Linked DNA regions of Homo sapiens: all the other regions are linked to region 6. The links are contacts of gene promoters, found by promoter capture Hi-C in human tissues and cell types (Jung and others, 2019). All regions are on one chromosome and are shown on one strand. The core of a region is centred on a gene start or on the middle of the fragment in contact, and the rest is flanking DNA. Distances in the headings are between cores, read along the strand shown. Region 1 overlaps SOD1-DT (SOD1 divergent transcript). Region 2 has its middle 39 kb from the start of LINC00159. Region 3 holds the start of LINC00159 (long intergenic non-protein coding RNA 159). Region 4 overlaps LOC124905008 (a long non-coding RNA gene). Region 5 has its middle 32 kb from the start of SOD1. Region 6 holds the start of HUNK (hormonally up-regulated Neu-associated kinase). Region 7 has its middle 19 kb from the start of LINC00159.

Evidence for each region. Contacts are between HindIII fragments. The study calls those that stand out against the background at their distance.
Region 1: a fragment that was not itself captured here is called in contact with the fragment with the promoter of HUNK in region 6 in 1 of the 25 tissues and cell types used here (lymphoblastoid cells).
Region 2: a contact is called between a fragment that was not itself captured here and the fragment with the promoter of HUNK in region 6, in 2 of the 25 tissues and cell types used here (dorsolateral prefrontal cortex and thymus).
Region 3: a contact is called between a fragment that was not itself captured here and the fragment with the promoter of HUNK in region 6, in 4 of the 25 tissues and cell types used here (aorta, dorsolateral prefrontal cortex, lymphoblastoid cells and 1 more).
Region 4: a fragment that was not itself captured here is called in contact with the fragment with the promoter of HUNK in region 6 in 6 of the 25 tissues and cell types used here (H1 embryonic stem cells, heart right ventricle, liver and 3 more).
Region 5: a contact is called between a fragment that was not itself captured here and the fragment with the promoter of HUNK in region 6, in 1 of the 25 tissues and cell types used here (lymphoblastoid cells).
Region 7: a fragment that was not itself captured here is called in contact with the fragment with the promoter of HUNK in region 6 in 4 of the 25 tissues and cell types used here (IMR-90 fibroblasts, dorsolateral prefrontal cortex, lymphoblastoid cells and 1 more).

Annotation. Positions count from the first base shown.
Region 1 is chr21:31,651,175-31,653,874 of GRCh38, forward strand. SOD1-DT (SOD1 divergent transcript) reads right to left here. Exons shown (of 3, transcript NR_187558.1): 3 at 2,413-2,700. Among named protein-coding and RNA genes, the nearest start is that of SOD1, 7.2 kb to the right of the region's middle. RefSeq lists an enhancer at 2,669-2,700. The HindIII fragment of the contact is 3,434 bases long and covers 1-2,700 here.
Region 2 is chr21:32,046,007-32,048,761 of GRCh38, forward strand. No RefSeq gene overlaps it. Among named protein-coding and RNA genes, the nearest start is that of LINC00159, 39 kb to the right of the region's middle. The HindIII fragment of the contact is 6,648 bases long and covers 1-2,755 here.
Region 3 is chr21:32,084,392-32,087,091 of GRCh38, forward strand. LINC00159 (long intergenic non-protein coding RNA 159) reads right to left here and starts at 1,904. Exons shown (of 2, transcript NR_038033.1): 1 at 1,813-1,904. The HindIII fragment of the contact is 3,140 bases long and covers 1-2,700 here.
Region 4 is chr21:31,739,072-31,741,772 of GRCh38, forward strand. All of the region lies in intron 1 of LOC124905008 (a long non-coding RNA gene), which reads left to right. Among named protein-coding and RNA genes, the nearest start is that of SCAF4, 8.3 kb to the left of the region's middle. The HindIII fragment of the contact is 5,403 bases long and covers 1-2,701 here.
Region 5 is chr21:31,626,017-31,628,716 of GRCh38, forward strand. It overlaps the pseudogene FBXW11P1. Among named protein-coding and RNA genes, the nearest start is that of SOD1, 32 kb to the right of the region's middle. The HindIII fragment of the contact is 6,770 bases long and covers 1-2,700 here.
Region 6 is chr21:31,871,696-31,874,395 of GRCh38, forward strand. HUNK (hormonally up-regulated Neu-associated kinase) reads left to right here and starts at 1,325. Exons shown (of 11, transcript NM_014586.2): 1 at 1,325-2,240. The coding sequence starts at 1,980. RefSeq lists silencers at 1,443-1,492, 2,419-2,598. The HindIII fragment of the contact is 17,092 bases long and covers 1-2,700 here.
Region 7 is chr21:32,065,941-32,068,733 of GRCh38, forward strand. No RefSeq gene overlaps it. Among named protein-coding and RNA genes, the nearest start is that of LINC00159, 19 kb to the right of the region's middle. The HindIII fragment of the contact is 3,631 bases long and covers 1-2,793 here.

The DNA of each region.
Region 1 (2,700 bases), core at 69-2,568, 220 kb before region 6:
AAGTGATGTAGACACTTGGAAAAGCTAATTGGCAGTTTTTTAAAAAAGTTAAACAAAAGTTAAAAAACCAAAGAGAAATAAAACCATATGTGTTCAGAGGCATGAATGCCAGTGTTTACAGCAGCATTATTCATAATATTCAAGAACTGGAAATACTCCTGTATGCCTGTCTAAGGCTGTTGTAACAAACTACCATGCACACGGCTGGATGCGGTGGCTCATACCTGTAATCTCAGCACTTTGGGAAGCCGAGGAGGTGGATCACCTGAGGTCAGGAGATTGAGACCAGCCTGGCCATGATGGCAAAACCCTGTCTCTACTGAAAACACAAAAAATGAGCCGGGTGTAGTGGCAGGTACCTGTAATCCCAGCTACTTGGGAGGCTAAGGCAGGAGAATTGCTTGAACTCGGGAGGTGGAGGTTGCAGTGAGCCGAGATCGTGCCATTGCACTCCAGCCTGGCTGACAGAGAGAGACTCTGTCTCAGAAAAACAAACAAACCAGAAAAACAACTACCACAAACTGAGTGGCTTATATAACAGACATTGTCTCATAGTTCCAGAGGCTAGGAGAGATGAAGGTATCAGCAAGGCTGGTTCCTTCTGAGGCTGTGAAGAATCTGCTCCATGCCTCTCCCCTAGCTTTTTGGGGTTTGCTGACAATATCTGGTGTTCTTTGGCTTGTAGAAGCACCACACCTATCTCTGCCTTTATATTCACATGGGGGTGTTCTCCCTGTGTGCTTATGTCCAAATTTCCTCTTTTGTAAGGACACCAGTCATGCTGGACTTAGGGGTTCATCCTACTCCAGTATGACCTTATCTTAACTAATTACATCTGCAAAACCCCATTTCCAAACATGGTCACCTTCCAAGTTATTGGGGGTTAAAACTTCAGGGCTGGGCGTGGTGGCTCATGCCTGTAATCCCAGCAGTTTGGAAGGCCGAGGCAGGCGGATCACAAGGTCAGGAGATCGAGACCATCCTGGCTAACATGGTGAAACCCAGTCTCTATTAAAAATACAAAAAATTAGCCGGGCGTGGTGGCGGGCATCCCAGCTACTTGGGAGGCTGAGGCAGGAGAATGGCATGAACCTGGGAGGCAGAGCTTGCAGTGAGCCGAGATCGCGCCACTGCACTCCAGCCTGGGTGACAGAGCGAGACTCCGTCCAAAAAAATAAAACTTTAACATATGTATTTGGGGATGGGGCACAATTCAACCCATAATACATCCAAATGTCCCTCAGCTTATGAGCGGAAAAACGATCTCAGATACAGTCTATCCATGTAACAGAATAGTATTCACATATAGAAAGGCACAAATTACAGATAAGTGCTATAACGTGAACTGAGCTCTAAAACATCATGCTAAGTACAATAGGCCAGATGCAAAAGACAGTGTATTGTATGATACTATTTACATGAAATGTCCAGAAAGGGCAAATTTATTGACAGAAAGCAGGTCAGTGGTTGCCTGCAGCTTGGGGTGGGAGAAGGGATTAAGCAAAAACTACCATGAGGTAAATTGGGCTGATGGAAATGTTTTAAAACTGCATTGTGCTGGTAGCTGTCAACTACATAAATTTACTTTAAAAATCATTAAAGTGCATGCTTACAAAGGGTGAATTGTATGGTATGTAAATTGTATCTTAATAAAACTGTTAAAAAAAAAAAACAAACCAAACCTCCCAGGTTGTGGAGCAGCAATTTTTTTTAAAAGAACAATAACAATAAACCAATGCCTCTTTTTTTTTTTTTTTTTTTTTAGGCAGGGTCTCACTCTGTTGCCCAGGCTGGAGTGCAGAGGTGCGATCTCTGCTCACTGCAACCTCTGCCACCTGAGTTCAAGCAATTCTGCCACCTCAGTCTCCTGGGTAGCTGAGACTATAGGTGTGTGCCACCATGCCCAGCTAGTTTTTGTATTTTTTGTAGAGTCGGGGTTTCACCATGTTGCCCAGGCTGGTCTCAAACTCCTGGGCTGAAGTGATCTGCCCGTCTCCGCCTCCAAAAGTGCTGGGATTATAGGGTTGAACCACCATGCCCAGCCCCTTTCCTTAAAAACAGAAAGAAGTTGTGAAGCAGAATCATCCTGTCATGATAAAGGTATGACTAAATAATACGTGAAAAACATGCAACTCAATTAACTCTTCACAAGTGTAATGATCTCAAACAAAATATACTACCCTTCATCTCAACTTAAATACCAATCTTCATGCAATAAGTAAAATCTGCACTGATGAGACTTTTAAAACAGCAGCCCCACCACATATGAGGCCTATAAACCAAGCTTGTCCAACCCGCAGCCTATGGTGCCTGTGGCCCAGGAAGGCTTTGGGTGCAGCCCAATGCAAATTCATAAACTTTCTTAAAATGTGAGATTGCCTTTGCGATTTTTTTTTTTTTTTTTTTTTTTTTAGCTCACCAGCTATCATTAGTGTTAACGTATTTTATGTGTGGCCCAAGACAATTCTTCAAATATAGCCAATTTGAAGCCAATATGGCCCAGGTGATGGGGACCCCTGGGGTTTAAACCGCACAAACTTTAGGCATTATCATTTCAAGTTTAAGTCTCACCCAACTCCTACCCACCTAGTAGGGTAGAGGTTCATTAAGAAAATTATGTGCCTTAAAGGGAATAGATAATTACATTTTTAAAAAACAACTTTGAGGCTGGGGGCGGTAGCTCATGCCTATAATCCTAGC
Region 2 (2,755 bases), core at 57-2,556, 170 kb after region 6:
AAATGTGAATTACATACATCAGATTCACAACCTCTACAAGAAGATGACCCAAGACATGGACAAAGAATAAGGAAGAACCACTTTCTTCTATCAAAAGGAGATTCTCTTCTATGAGGAAACAGTACGGGAAAAATTGGATGGCAGTTCTGTTGACTGAGAGAAAACTCAACGTGCTAAGAAAAAAAAAAATGATCGCAGCAGGAAAATCCTGGCTAACGTCAAGTTCAAGTCTCACCTTTCCCAAGTGGCCTTTTTATTCCTGCTGTTCCAAGCACAACACACAGAGGCCCAGAACTACCAGGGGGTCCCCTGAATCATCACGTTCTCCAGGAAGGAGGAGGACGGTGCTATGAGGCTCAAGGATCTGGGTCACCTTCAGATTTCACTCAGTTCTCACAGCAGGGGGGCCCTGAACACCCACAATCACAGCAGGACATCCGCCTGTGCTGTCTCTTTAAAGTGATTTTGATGTATTTCTTTTTAGTTCAGCTGCTCTTATTTAATGGATGCTACCATTGCTCTTATTCAAGTAGACATAGCATTATAATTTGAAGACAGTTTTTTTTTTTTTTTGAGATGGAGTTTCTCTCTTGTTGCCCAGGCTGGAGTGCAATGGCACGATCTTGGCTCACTGCAACCTCGCCTCCCGGGTTCAAGCAATTCTCCTGCCTCAGCATCCTGAGTAGCTGGGATTACAGGTATGCACCACCATGCCCGGCTGATTTTGTGTATTTTTAGTAGAGATGGGGTTTCTCCATGTTGGTCAGGCTGGTCTTGAACTCCTGACCTCATGTGATCCACCTGCCTTGGCCTCCCAAAGTGCTGGGATTACAGGCGTGAGCACTGTGCCCGGCCTTTAAGATAGTATTTTTCAAATAAAGGTTTATTTTATATAACACTTATGAATACATTATTTTTCATGTTGTTGAACTCTCTACAGTTAGGCCATAGAAATCTTGTTTTGTTTTGTTTTGTTTTTGAGAGAGTCTCTTTCTGTTGCCTAGGCTGGAGGGCAGGGGCACAATCTCGGCTCACTGCAACCTCCACTTTCTGGGTTCCAGAGATTCTCGGGCCTCAGCCTCCTGAGTAACTAGGACTACAGGTGTGTACCACTGCGCCCAGCTTATTTTTGTATTTTTAGTAAAGATGGAGATTTGCCATGTTTCCCAGGCTGGTATCAAACTCCTGACCTCAAGCAATCCACCCACGTTGGCCTCCCAAAGTGCTGAGATTACAGGCATGAGCCATCATGCCCAGCAAAATATTGTATTTTAATTTAAATGGAGGGTCCGCTGTTACTTAAACTATCATTGAATAACAATGTTTAGAACAACAAAGACCATTTCTGTACGCTAGGGACAGCTATTAGACATTTGTTCAAGTAATTTCATATTTACTACAATACACTTTTTTTTTTTGAGGCAGAGTCTTGCTCTGTTGTCCAGGCTGGAGTGCAGTGGCGCGATCTCTGCTCACTGCAAGCTCCGCCTCCCGGGTTCATGCCATTCTCCTGCCTCAGCCTCCCAAGTAGCTGCGACTACAGGCGCCCGCCACCATGCCTGGCTAATTTTTTGTATTTTTTTAGTAGAGACGGGGTTTCACCATGTTAGCCAGGATGGTCTCAATCTCCCGACCTCGTGATCCACCCTCCTCGGCCTCCCAAAGTGCTGGGATTACAGGCATGAGCCACCGTGCCCGGCACCACAATACATTTTGATTGGTTTTAAAAAGTTGAGGGGAAACACCCCTTAACAACAACAATTCCCCACTCAAACATCATAATGTTGTTATTAGATTAGCCCTAAATTCATAGATTGATTTAGGGGAGTCGATATTTTGCAACCACTTTTTTTCTTATTTTGTAATTTTTAAAGACTTTATTGTTTTGTTTAAGATACTGTTTGTTGTTTAAACATTTCTAAATTTTATACAGTCAAAAGTTTTCCCTTGCATGCGGGGCTTAAAGCCTAGATGATGAGTTGATAGGTGCAGCAAACCACCATGGCACATGTATACCTGTGTAACAAACCTGCACGTTCTGCACATGTATCCCAGAACTTAAAGTAAAATTAAAAAAACAAGTTTTCCCTTAATGTCACATGCACCTGTACACACAGACACACACACACACACACACACAGACACACACACCCCACAATGCAGATGTAAGGTACTTTCAATTGTTATGTCAGTACTTGAGGAAAATGTAAAAATAAAAAGAGCCACGATTTTAAAAACATTTTTAAAATAAATAAGTGAAGAAAGAAAAAATTGAGTGCACACCAAATTTGTACATACAGAAAAGAGATCTAAATCATAAACACACAAAAGGAGGGCTGCTAATGTATCACACAAGATTCAAACAAGAAGCAGTTCATCCTAAACCGTGCAGATGAAGAGATGTTGATGAAAGCGGTTTTCCAAGCAGTGGGTGGGGATAAGGAACTGACAGGGGATGGTGAGGCTCTCAGACGCCAGCAACAGGGGGATGACTGCCCTCCCCCACCTAGGCCCCAAGGAAGGAGGGAGGAAGTGGTGTCATCTGAGCCCAGCGGGGAGCTTTTGAGGGATGGATAAAACTGGTCCCCACCCTCTCTGGTCTTGTCTTCCTATTGACTACTGGTGCACAGGCAGCCACCAGCCATAGGGCCTGAGCAGTGCAGGCCAGAGGAGTTGGCCTCCTAGGCACAGAGCAGGCCCACAAAGGCTGCAAAACAAATTTGGAGAATGACCAGTTCACTTGACTCTATTCGAT
Region 3 (2,700 bases), core at 182-2,681, 210 kb after region 6:
GCTTGAGCCACCACACCCAGCCCTGAAGTCTTTCTAGAAGGATTCTCCATCTTATTTTTGTCCTAGAGATACTCAATACTCAGTAATCTCATCCTGATCCAATATGGCCTACCCTGAGGAATGGAGGAAGAGCTTGGTTCTGGATTGGACTCTTCTGGCAAGGCAGGCATGACAGCAGACCTTGCTATTCACGAGTTTACGAATAATCTTGAGGAACCTTGAGCTCACCTGTGGTCACTCCTTCTTCCCACCCCAAGGAGAAGAGAAGCTTGTCTTCTTGGATGCAGTTGGGAGCCTACAGCCTACTCCCACACCCAGGCCTCTGTGGCTGTCCAAAGTCCACGTGTCCCCAAGACCATCCTCACTTGGGGAGGACGTCGGCATATTATGGGTTCAGTCATTCTAGGTATAACTATCTTCTGTATGACCAGGTCAAGCTATATATAGCTTAGAAATTTTCAGGTGCTCGATTAGTAATCACAACCAATGTGATTCAAGCATCTATCTGCTTGGATTTTTTAAAAAAGTGTTTTCAGTCTTCCCAGTCCTGGATATTTTAAGCAGAAGGACCCATCCAAGCATCATAGGATAAGCACCCAAATCAGAACAAGCTCCTGGTATCTCAGTAATGAGAAGCTCCTTTCTCATTACTGCCCATCTTCCCTGACCAGACTGAGCCTTTATCCCCTGTAATGATCCTGAGATTGCCCCTTGGATACAAGGACAGTTTCATTTTGGTCTGATATTCTGCCACAGATTTGATCCTCTGATCTGCCCTGGGAATAGATCTCCCTGATCAAGAAGGACTCCTGTGCAGTAAATAATTCACCTTGTCCAAAAGAGGTTTGACTTTTGCCCTCAGCACATGAGAGGTAACTTCTAAGCCCTTGAAATGTTTCTGAGGCAGGAGAATGTTGTGAACCCAGGAGACGGAGCTTGCAGTGAGCTGAGATCACGCCACTGCACTTCAGCCTATACGGTAGAGTGAGACTCCGTCTCAAAAAAAAAAAAAAAAAAAGAGAATGCCTTTGTTTATATGGGGGGCTTGGGATAGCCCAAAGGGTCTATGTTATCAATGTGATTTATGGTGGGGACTTTGAACCACACAGTATCAACCTGACCTCTGGAAGTGCTGGTGACCAAGGTCAGCCCAGCAGATGGTCAATCATGTCTACGTGAACAAGTCCCAATAAAAACTGTGCACACCAAGACTCTGGTGAGTTTTTCCTGGTTAATAATACTCTGTGCATGATGTCAAATGTTGTGTCTGAGAGGTGCTCTCTGCACGACTCATGTTTAATGACTTCTAAAATCTGACCTATATGCCTCTTCCCTTGGAGGATTTTAATCTGTATCCTTTCATGGTAATAAAGCATAACCATGAATATAATAACTTTTCTGAGTTCTGTGCATCTTGCTAGCAAATTATTGAATCTGAGATGGTCCTGGGGATCTTCAATTTGTTGTTGGTGTCAGAAGTGAGGAGGATCTTGTAGACACCCGAACTTTGCAACCTTCAAAGTAGAATCCCAGCATCAACTCACCTGGCCAGAACTCCCATGAAAAGCGATTAGCAATCTTCATCCTAGAACCTGGGGACATTCTGTTTTTCCTTCTTTTCTGGTCAATCGGTCTCTTCTCAGCCACTGCACTCTTAGAACAGTCTGACCTCCTAGTTTCCCTTTGGAGCCTTTCCTACCTCATCCCCAAACCAGGTTAAACCCTCCCACCTGCTGTTTATCCTCTTCTAGAGATATCTCCCTTTTCTGCATCATTACCTTCTCTTATCAGGCACATACCCCAGGTTCATACCTGCCCAAATGAGGTCCTCCTTCTGTCAGTCAATTCCTGAATTATCAAAGCTCACCACATCTTCTGAGCTGGCATTTCCATATGATATCAGTCTGCTGAAAATAAATTCCAATATACAGACACAAGGAGATCCAGTTAAAAGAGCCCAGGAAATTCTCTATTTATTACAGAATGACAAGTAGAGGTCTTGACGTAAACGCAGAAAAGCAGGAGGCCCCGGAATCTCACAGAAAGAAATAACATGAGAACTGGGAAGGACAGTTCTGAAGCTTTCATAAGACAAATCCATCAAACACAAGAGAGAAAATTAGATTTCCTATTCTGCTTTTTCAATAGTGATCCAATTAATACTTGAATACTTGAATACTTCTAAGCCCTTGAAATGTTTCTGAGGCAGGAGAATGGTGTGAACCCAGGAGGCGGAGCTTGCAGTGAGCTGAGATCACGCCACTGCACTTCAGCCTATACAGTAGAGCGAGACTCCGTCTCAAAAAAAAAAAAAAAAAAGAATGCCTTTGTTTACATGGGGGGCTTGGGATAGCCCAAAGGGTCTATGTTATCAATGTGATTTATGGTGGGGACTTTGAACCACACAGTATCAACCTGACCTCTGGAAGTGCTGGTGACTGGGGCAATAAAAACACAGTAATTTGGATCAATTGGTAAAGAGCTCAATATGAGTTAATGAAAGTTAGAATTGCAGAATATAGTGGAAGAAACACAATAAAATTACTTCCAAATATTTACATAGATTTTTAAAAAACAAGCAACCAAGTAGAAGTCTTATGGGTCGATTATAGTAAGTAGACAATTTTCATGTGCCAGTTCACATTATTTTAATCCAATCAGTGCTACTCAAGTGCTTTAATAATGTGAAAAATAGTTTCC
Region 4 (2,701 bases), core at 178-2,677, 130 kb before region 6:
TCAGTTAAAGTCTCCAACATAGTTCTTTTAAAAATTGTTTTCACTATGCTGTAATCTTTGCATTTCTATATAAATTTTTAAATCAACTTGTTAATTTCAAAAAAAAAAAAACACCCCACACAACTGAAAACAAGACAAAATAGGAAGTATGCTGGCTAGGCGTGGTGGCTCACGCCTGTAATCCCAGCACTCTGGGAGGCCGAGGTGGGCGGATCACGAGGTCAGGAGTTTGAGACCAGCCTGGCCAACGTGGTGAACCCCCGTCTCTATTAAAGATACAAAAAATTAGCTGGTCATGGTGGCGCTCGCCTGTGCACCTGTAATCCCAGCTACTTGGGAGGCTGGGGCAGGAGAATTGCTTGAACCTGGGAGGCAGAGGTTGCAGGGAGCCGAGATCACGCCATTGCACTCCAGCCTGGGCAACAGGGTGAGACTCCGTCTCAAAAAACAAAACAACAACAACAACAACAAAAATCACAAATGGGTGTTAATGTTGTCAGATACCATGGCTATATTCATTGGGATGATTATGTGATTTTGTCTATTCTATTATATTAATGAATTACTGTGATTGGTTTTTGAATGTGAAACCAACCTGGCATTCCTATAATAAAATCCACTTGGTTATGGGATATTACTTTTTTTATATGTTGCCGGGTTCAATTTGCAAAGATTCTGTCTGTCAAAATATTTCCTTCTATATTCATGAGTGGTATTGGTGGTCTCTGTTTTCCTTTTCTTGTAATGGTTTTGGTGTCGGGGTAGCTTGCTCTCATCAAATTATTTGATAAGTGCTTCTCTCCTTCCCTGTTATCTATTTTTTTTTTTTTTTTTTTTAGATAGCGTTTTGCTCTTGTCACCCGGCTGGAGGGCAGTGGTGCGATCTTGGCTCACTGCAACCTCCTGGGTTCAAGCGATTCTCCTGCCTCAGCCTCTCAAGTAGCTGGGATTACAGGCAGCTGCCACCATGCCCAGCTAATTTTTGTATTTTTACTAGAGATGGGGTTTCACCATGTTGGCCAGGCTGGTCTCGAACTCCTGACCTCAGGTGATCCACCTGCCTCGGCCTCCCAAAGTGCTGGGATTACAGGTGTGAACCACCACACCCGACCTCCTTCTCTATTTTCTAAAATAGCCTGTGTGGAATTGATATTATTTCTTTCTTAAGATTTGTTAGAATTCACCAATGAAGCCACTTGGGCCTAAAGTTTTGCTTATGAGAGGGTTTTATATTAATCAATTTTTAAAATTGATATAGTGTTCTTCAGGTCTTCTGTTTCTCGAGGGAGTTTTGATCATTTGTATTTTTTTCAGAAAATTGTCCATTTAAAGGTTGTCAATTTATTGCATAAAGTTTTTCCATGATATTCTGTTATTACCCTTTTAATGTCTGTAGTGATATTTCCTCTTTCATTTCTGATATTGATAATTTCTATCTTCTTTTTTTTCTTTTCTTGTTGAGTGAGGTTAGAGATTCATCTATTTTGTTGTTCCAAAAACCAAAGAAACAGTTTTTGGTTTCATTGATTAGCTCTATTGTTTGTGGACTTTCTAGTTCATTGATTTTCACTCTTATTTCCTTTCTTCTGCTTCCTTTATATTTAATTTGCTCTTTTCAAGTTTTTTTTTTTTTTTTTTTTTTGAGACAATGTCTCACTCTGTCGCCCAGGCTGGAGTGCAGTGGGGTGATCTTGGCTCACCACAACCTCTGCCTCCCGGGTTCAAGCAATTTTCCTGCCTCAACCTCCTGAGTAGCTGGGACTACAGGTGTGCGCCACCATGCCTGGCTAATTTTTGTATTTTTAGTAGAGACGGGGTTTCACCATTTTGGCCAGGCTAGTCTTGAACTCCTGACCTTGTGATCTGCCCACCTCGGCCTCCCTAAGTGCTTGGATTACAGGGGTGAGCCACTGTGTCCGGCCTCTTTTCCGGTTTCTTAAAGTGGAGGCCTAGATCATTGATTTTAGCCTTTTTTTTTTTTTTTGAGATGGAGTCTCGCTCTGCCACCCAGGCTGGAGTGCAGTGGCACCATCTCGGCTCACTGCAACCTCCACCTCCCTAGTTCAAGCAATTCTCCTGTTGCAGCTTCCTGAGTAGCTGGGATTACAGGCACATACCACCATGCCCGGCTAATTTTTTTTTATGTTTAGTAGAGATGGGGTTTCATCATGTTGGCCAGACTGGTCTCGAACTCTTGACCTCAGGCGTGAGCCAACACGCCCAGCCGAGCCTTTTTTTTTTTTTTTTTTTTTGTATTGTAAGCATTTAAAACTTTAAATTTACTTCTCAAATTTTGGAGTGTTGTATTTCTTAAATATTTAGTTCAAAATATTTTGTAATTTCCCTTGGGAGTTTTTCTTTTCCCTAAGTTCTTATTTATGAAAGTATTGTTTAAATTCCAAATAGTTGGGAATTTCTGTTATCTTTCTGTGATTGATTATACTAATCGAATTCCATTATAGTCACATATCATACTTCATATGATTTCAGTTTTTTTTTAATTATTGTGACTTGTTTTGTGGCTCAATTCATGGTCTACCTAGATGATTGCTCCATGTGCACTTTAAAATAATATATATTCCGCTCTTGTTAGGTAGGATAATAATATATATTCCGCTCTTGTTAGGTAGGATAATAATATATATTCCGCTCTTGTTAGGTAGGATAATAATATATATTCCGCTCTTGTTAGGTTCTGTTA
Region 5 (2,700 bases), core at 102-2,601, 250 kb before region 6:
AGATGGTTGCGGTTCAGAGAACAGTTAATAAAAGGGCTAACCCCCATGGCACGTGTATACCTATGTAACAAAAGTGCACGTTCTGCACATGTATTCCAGAACTTAAAATATAATTTAAAAAAATTAAAAATAAAATAAAAGAGCTATGTTGGGAGATAATAACTGACTTATAGTTCTTTTTTTTTTTTTTTTTTTTTTGAGACGGAGTCTCGCTCTGTCGCCCAGGCTGGAGTGCAGTGGTGCAATCTTGACTCACTGCAACCTCCGCCTCCAGGGTTCTGGCCATTCTCCTGCCTCAGCCTCCCAAGTAGCTGGGACTAGAGGCGCCCACCACCACACCCGGCTAATTTTTTGTATTTTTAGTAGAGACGGGGTTTCACCGTGTTAGCCAGGATGGTCTCAATCTCCTGACCTCGTGATCCGCCCGCCTTGGCTTTCCAAAGTGCTGGGATTACAGGGGTGAGCCACTGCGCTCGGCCAACTGACTTACAGTTCTTTAAATTAAAAGAAATTGGTATAGAAAGGAAGTATAATCCAAAACATATTACTAAAACGACCCAGAGAGATTTTTCCATTGTCCAACATGTTCCTAATACAGCAAGTCAAAATTCATAATGACTTGGACGGTCAAAAGGAGAATGTTAACTTTTGAAAATGAAAGCCGTGGACATTCTGAGTAGGTGTTTGGCACCCAAAATTTCACTGAAGAAGAATGCTGTTTCTTAGTATCAAACCAAAGTGCAAAGCAATATAAATTAGAGGCCAAGACTTCTCTTGGCGTCAATTTACTTCTGTAAAACAGATTCTATGTTCCTTTTCTATGATCAGTTTACATTTGAAACATTAGATTTTTTCACTAATGAGGGAAGGAAATGGGCTTCTGTGCTACTTTCAAGTCAGTGAAGCTAAGGTCTCCTTCTCAAAGTAGAGCTGGAATCAGAGGTGAGAAATGTCGGGACTTGAAGAGTTAGGCTGCTTTGCATCTACCCAGCGTCTAGAACCAATTCCAGCTTCATAACTCAGCTGTGAACGAACTCCCTTAGGCATTGGTAGCCACGTAGCCAGTAGTTCAAGACTAGAAAACCCGGAAACGGGTGAAAGTGCAGACTGTTATCTAGAGATGTAAGTGTATGTTCTGGAGGGGGAATGGGTCTCATTCTGGGCACTGGGAGGCACATTTAAGAAACCACAAATCAAAATAGTGTCATCATGGGAGCTGCTGACGATTTGAAACTCATCAAACTGTAGGCAAAACACATGTCCAGAATGTTCCACCAATGTGCGCAAACACAATGTGCTTGCTGGGGCTCGAGGGTCAAGAGCGGCTTGCAAGTCCTAAACTTTAATTTTCCCATCATAGGCCCGGCTGACCATCCTCTTGTTATCAAACTGGATGCATCGGACCAATTCTTCATGTCCCTCTAGGACTCTTAAACAGGAGCCACATTCAATATCCAAGAGCCTAATGGTATGATCTGATGATCCACTAACAACCAGCCCATCCCTGTACTGGAGACAAGACTCGCTTGTGCCCATTGAGAGTACGAGCAAATTCACAGGTGCTCATGCTCCAGACTTTGATGGTCCTGTCACCAGAGGCAGACACGATGTATTTCTCGTCAAAGTCTACTACGTTGACAGCAGCTCAGTGGACAACCAGGACACCACGTAAAGTGATATCGGTCGCAGAAGCCATGTCCCACACAGCAATGGAGCGGTCCTTGGAACAGGTCACCATCAGTCCACTGCTGAAGCGTAAGTGCAGTACATCCTCATTGTGGTGGATTAATGTGTTAAGAACTTCACCCGTGTTCACTTCCCACACTCTCACCGTAGAATCCGAAGAGCCAGTTACAATGACACGCTCATCCTACTGCAGATAGAGGACAGAACCTGTGTGGCCATTAACACTTTCAAACATTCCAGGCTGGTTTTATCCCAAATCTTAATTATCTTGTAGGCCACTGATAATTTTTTCATCATCGTACTGTAAACCATAGACACCTTTACTATTTTCAGAGTGGTACTGAATCCTCTGCAAGCTGTGTCGGCCACACCGCTAGGTGGATTCTATAGTCTCTATATCCTGGATAATGTTTGGGTATAATGACCTATAAAATGAATTTGGAGGGCTAGATATGGGTCTGTTTTGAAACAGGTACTGATCCCACCCTCTTCTTTCTGAAAGTCCTTTCCATAGGGGATCAGTGTGTACCATTCGTTCAATCAGCTTCTTCCAAAGCATTCATTCTGAGATCAATCCCTGCCATCCTTTACATACCAGCTCTGCTGCACACAGAGACCTGGTAACCAGGTACAAAAGAATGTTTTCTGCTATGTGATCTAAGCCTTGCTCGGGTAAAGCAGTAATAAAGTCCTGCTGCAACATGGGCTTCAGGTAAGAGTTGATACGTCCATGGTGATAATGACACATTCGTGAAATAAGATGTTCCACAAATTCCAACTGATCTGATTCAGACCCCTGGTTAAAATATTGAATATACAAGTCTTTTTCTTTTTGGTAGTTTCCTTCTGATGGCCTCTTTCTGGAGATGATCACAAATGATGTTCCATTACTTATCTGCCAAGGAGTATTTTTCTTTGGGGACTTATCTTCATCTTGATCTTCCAGAACTGAAGTGTTAGTTCCACATGGCTGGGGAGGCCTCATAATCACGGCAGAAGGCAAGGAGGAGCAGG
Region 6 (2,700 bases), core at 75-2,574:
GACATCTATTCTGCTGGCACCACGCTAGTTACCATTCCCCTCCCATGCAACTGTCCTGTTAAGATTTGATTACTGAATTAGAGACATTAAAAGGATTGAATGAACGTTACTGAAATAGTCAAGGCCGGTGGGAGCAAAGAAGTCCCTTCAGCACAGCAAGAAAAACATTTTAAGCTGTATCTTTAATATTGGTAAACGGGAACAATGAGACAGAACAACAGAAAACGCAGTATGTTCCGTCATAATAACTGAGGCTGGTGACTTGTAACAGGTAGGTGGATGAATATAGTAGCGTATTTAAAATTAGATGTATTGAAAGCAGGCATTTCTCTGCGTCCCTCTTCAGATGGGTCAGCGAGACCCCCAGACACTGGATTGATGACAGCTGTTGTTCCCCCACCCCCCACTCCCAATCTCAAAGCATTGCTATGGGTCGATGTCATACTTGTTTACTCAGGAATAAACAATGAAAGGAACTTTGTTAGGACCAAATCCTTCCTTTCAGCTCTGATGTTGCATGATCGGGGTGAAGTTTCCATCAAATGCGGGCACCTCAACAGGTAGCATTTTGTAAATGCCTCCTCCTACCTACCCTCCTCCTTCTCCCTCACAAGATTCTTCATTTTCGGTTTGAGAAGACGTTGGGGATCCTGGGAGAGGGTCCAGTGTCGTCAGGGCAGTTGCAATTGTTTATGCGATGAGCACAGTCACAGCGCTTGCAGAACAAAAGCATCGAAGAGAGGCGAGCGCCGGTCCACCTCCTGCAATCACAGGCATCATTTCAATGGAAGGCAAAGAAGGTGTAAGCTACAAGCAGAGGCAGCAAACGCCCTGGTTCCTACATTGCTGCTGCTACTATTACTGCTGTGGCTGCGCCTCCTCCAACACAGCCAACCAGGCTGCGTGCGAGCCCGGGCAGACGCCTGGCCGCCTCCCCACCCTTTCTTCCAGCCATCCATCTATCCTTCCACCCCCGGTCCAGGGGGCCCTACTGTGTGGCGGACTCAGGGCCGGGCACGCAACCCGACTCACAGTCCACGGAGTTCGAGAGCCTTCCCCCTTCCCCCCGCCCCGGGTGGGTGCGGCCAGTGGGGGATTTCACCGCCGAAAGGTCCAGAAAACCCAAGCCCAGAATCCGGGCAAGAGGCGCAGCCGGAGGCGGCCCGACCTGGGCGGCCCGGGAGCGCGCGCCTCCGAGGCCGCGCAGGTTCTCCCTGTCTGGCGCTCAGGTGGCTTCTCCGTCCACTCCGCCGCTCCCCTCCCCGGGCCCTCCCCTCTCCAGCGAGGGTCGAGTTTGACTGTGGCGCGCGGGGAAGGAGGGGCTACTAGGGATTTGAAAGTGCACGGGCTGCGGAGTGGAGCTCGCATCTGTTCCCGCCGCCCGCGAGCGGATTAAATTTCTGCAAATTCAAACTGAATGGGGCTTTCTTCTGCTGCCTTCCAGAGGGCGCCGGCAGCCCGCCGCGCGCTTCTCTCCGGCGGGAGCGGCCGCCCAGCGCACGGCTAGGAGCGATCGCGGGAGCCCGACCCAAGCCCGTGCGGGCCAGACGGCGGCGGCGAGGCGGAGGCTGCGGAGGCACCCGGGCTCCCGGACCCAGGCACCCGGACCCCGGGACCCAGGCGCCGCCGGACCGCGCCCCACCCCGCGCGCCCGAGCAGGGCGACTGTCATTAGCTTCCTGGACGGGACCCGGGGCGGGATCCTGGTGTCCTGAAAGGGGCCCGGGCGACCCTAAGAGGAAGAACTTTTGGGGGCGGGGTCCCCGGTCCCGCGTCCCCTGGGCAGCCGCTATTGTCTACGCGCCTCGCTGGGCGGCGCGGGGGGCGTGATCGCGGCGGCCCCGGGCTCTGGGTGCGGAGACCCAGGCGGGGCTGGGCCCAGGGCGGCGGCGGGAGAAGCCGGGGAAGCCGAAGAGCCTGGGGAGGAGGAGCTGCGAGCGCGGGAGACGAGCAGGAGCCGCGCGGGCCGCGGCGAGCGCGATGCCGGCGGCGGCGGGGGACGGGCTCCTGGGGGAGCCGGCGGCGCCTGGGGGCGGCGGCGGCGCGGAGGACGCGGCCAGGCCCGCGGCGGCCTGCGAGGGAAGTTTCCTGCCTGCCTGGGTGAGCGGCGTGCCCCGCGAGCGGCTCCGCGACTTCCAGCACCACAAGCGCGTGGGCAACTACCTCATCGGCAGCAGGAAGCTGGGCGAGGGCTCCTTTGCCAAGGTGCGCGAGGGGCTGCACGTGCTGACCGGGGAGAAGGTGAGTCTCCCGGGCGCCGTGGGGCTGGGGCACAGGGGCGGGAGTCGGCGGCCAGGACCCCGCGGGGAGCACTGCACTGGGAGTCCCAGTGTGCAGTCCCGGGCCAAGCGCCTTCCCCCTCCGCCCGGCTTTCCTGTTGGGTTAAAACGCGCGCTCAGCATCTCGCAGCCTTTCCCGAAGGCGGCCTGCGGTCCGCTGCCCGGGGGTTGGGGGCTTGGGAGGGGACGGCCTTGCCCCGGGAAGCGTCCCGCGCGGCCGTTCTGCTCGTGGAAGGGCGCCGCCTGGCGACACTAGCGCGGGGGGCGGGATGGGGCCCCTCTGCCCTTCAGGCCGGCAGGGGCGGCGGATCCGTGGCGAGGCGGGAACCAGGGCTAGAGGAGGTGGGCTCTTATGTCGGGGGGCGGGGGGGGCAGGAAAGCTAACAGCCAGCCTCTGGGGGGAGCTTAGAGTCTGATCCCCG
Region 7 (2,793 bases), core at 107-2,606, 190 kb after region 6:
CACCGGGGCAGAGAGGTCACGTGTGCAAAGATTTGCACATTAGAAATAATATAACCCTTGAGGGATGTTGCTTTTATTTCTTCCCTATACACCCCCAGCTTAATTATTATTGACATTCTAGTGAAGTATTATTGTTATTTTCCAAAGAAAGACCCTTGTCTTCTGCAGTCTTCATGGAAGAATATTCAAGGAAAGTCTGGCTGTTACTATTGCCTGGAGGTGTGAAATGTGAAAGGCAGTTTGCAGTGTGTTCCTGACGTCTCTAAAGTATGGGCAGAGGGAAACAGACATAAGATATTGTTTAAAGCAGTTTCTTTTCTGGGGGCTCAGATCCCATGGGTTCAAGGAGCACCAATTTGCCTACCTCTCTGCTCCTCTTCCTCCCCTGACAGGGCCATGTGAGCTCAGCCTTGAGAACCCAAGCAAAAGGAATAATAATAGCAACAATGACCCTGTGACAGCAGCATTGTTCTGTTTCCTTCCTAGGTGCTGGGTACTATGCTTGGCGCTTTATATGAATCATCTCATTTACTTTCACAACAGCTGAGGCAGGAGCTCCTTTTGTCATACCCATTTTACAGATGGGCAATTGAGGATCAGAGAAATTAAGAAATGAGCCCAAAGTCACATAGCTAGCAAGTGGCAGAGCTGGGTTTTGAACCAGACTTTTTGGCTCCAGAGTCCTCACTCCTAACTATTAGAGCTCTTCTGCTTCTGACATTGAAGCTTAGTTTATGGGGTTGGTATAGAGGGTCTAACAGTATGTCTGACACCTACTAAGTGCCTCCAAATTTAATGGTGGTAGTTGCCATTCCTGGAATTTGTGACTTGCTTGTGAAACAGCTCCCCTTGGCCAGGAGTGGTGGCTCACACCTGTAATCCCAGCACTTTGGGAGGCTGAGGCAGGCGGATCACGTGAGGCCAGGAGTTTGAGACCAGCCTGACCAACAAGTCAAAATCCTGTCTCTACTAAAAATACAGAAATTAGCTGGGCATGGTGGTGGGTGCCTGTAATTCCAGCTACTTGGGAGGCTGAGGCGTGAGAATTGCTTGAACTCAGGAGGCAGAGGTTGCAGTCAGCTGAGATCGTGCCACTGCACTCCAGCCTGGGTGATGAAGCAAGACTGTCTCAAAAAAAAAAAAAATCCAGACAAACCGGAAAAACACAAAACAACCCCAGCTGTCCGTGGGCTATGTCCTAATGGGGTCCTGACTCCTGTATGCTACCTCCTTCTAGCAGTTGCAGCCACTCAATGTCCACTTGAGGGGCAGCCTCCATTTTCACGAGCAATGCTGAGCTGAGGGCTGGGGACAATTAAGTCCCTCCAGATGGATTGTTGACCCTGATTCCTCTGACAAGGATTCTCTCCTCCTTCTTCCTGCCTACTTGCCTCTGTTCTTCCAGTCGGGGCCTGTCTTGGTCTTAGTTCTCAACCTTCCACCTTTCCCAGACGTGAGGCCACACTCTTGCCCGCCGTGAACAGATGCTGCTCCCTGTGGACCTGGCTGTTTGCTGTGGGCTCTTCTGCAGATTATCTTTTTGTCAGGGCCCGGCTCTGGCCAACTTGTGGTGTTGGGAAGCATCACCTACCTACAGGCTGCCATAAACCAGAACGGAGAGACCATCAAGCTTCTGGGAACAATTTGGAATCTAAATGTTCCCTGGAGCCACTGTAATTTGGGCAGAGAGGGGAAAACCTCAGTAAAAAGTTGAAGGGAGAGAAATCAGGATCAGGGAGGAGAGCTGGGGGGCAGAGGGAGAGAGGAGGCACCTGGAGACACCTGTTCCTGCGGCAGGACGGCGGGTGGGAGCTGTACCTGCAGGCGGCTCTGTATCCTGGCCAAGATGCTCCGCCCATCACCTCTGTTGCCACCATGTTGCCAGGAAACATTTGGATTGCATTCTACCATTGAAGAAGCCCTGCCAAGAGGGCCAGTCAGGGCCAGGACATCATTCCCTCCTGCTCACGGCTGGCCGTGCCCAGCTGGCTATCCAGAGGGCACCAGCATCAGGGATCAGGAGCTCACCAGGTATTTCTTTGCATGGTGAGTGGTAACTTACAAAGCAGGGCCCTGCACTGTGAATAGGCAAGTTCAGTTTCGCTGGGTCTTGACACAGTGTGGTTAAATAACACCTGCAGATGGAATCACCAGGAGAGCCTGTTAAAATACAAATTCCTGGGACTACCCCTATGTACCCCCAAACTTAGTCAAAACTCCCACTCTGTGCCAAGTACTGCTCAACTCACTTTATATGTGTTAACTCACTTAGAGTTAATACCTGCAAGGTAGGTGCTACTATCATTGTTCCCATTTTACAGATGAAGAAACTGGTGCAGAGAGGGCTGGGAAGGCACCCTGGTCACACAGCTAATAAGAATTGGGATCTGAACTCAGGCTGAGTGGCTGCAGAGCCCTCTGCCAGGCCAGCCTGGGAGCCTCCTGTCTCAGACAGAAAAGCCTGTCCACTTGAAAAATGGACATCAGCAATGGCTTTTCAACCTACTGGGCTAATTAGTGCTCACTTGGAAGTCATCAGCTTAAACCAAATATTGTTAATCTATAAAATTCCTATGACCATGGGTCAGCCACCTTGCTGCCCTGTAAATGATAGGGTATTATCTTCCCAAACTCAATAAGGTTTTCAACCTATTTGGGAGTCAGTGACCTCCTTGACAATCCAATGAAAGTGTGGATCTTGCCCACATAACAAAAGACACCTATTCACATTTAATATGTAATAGCAAGAATGCCCAGGAAATCTGTGGATGCTATGTTGTGAACCCCAACCTA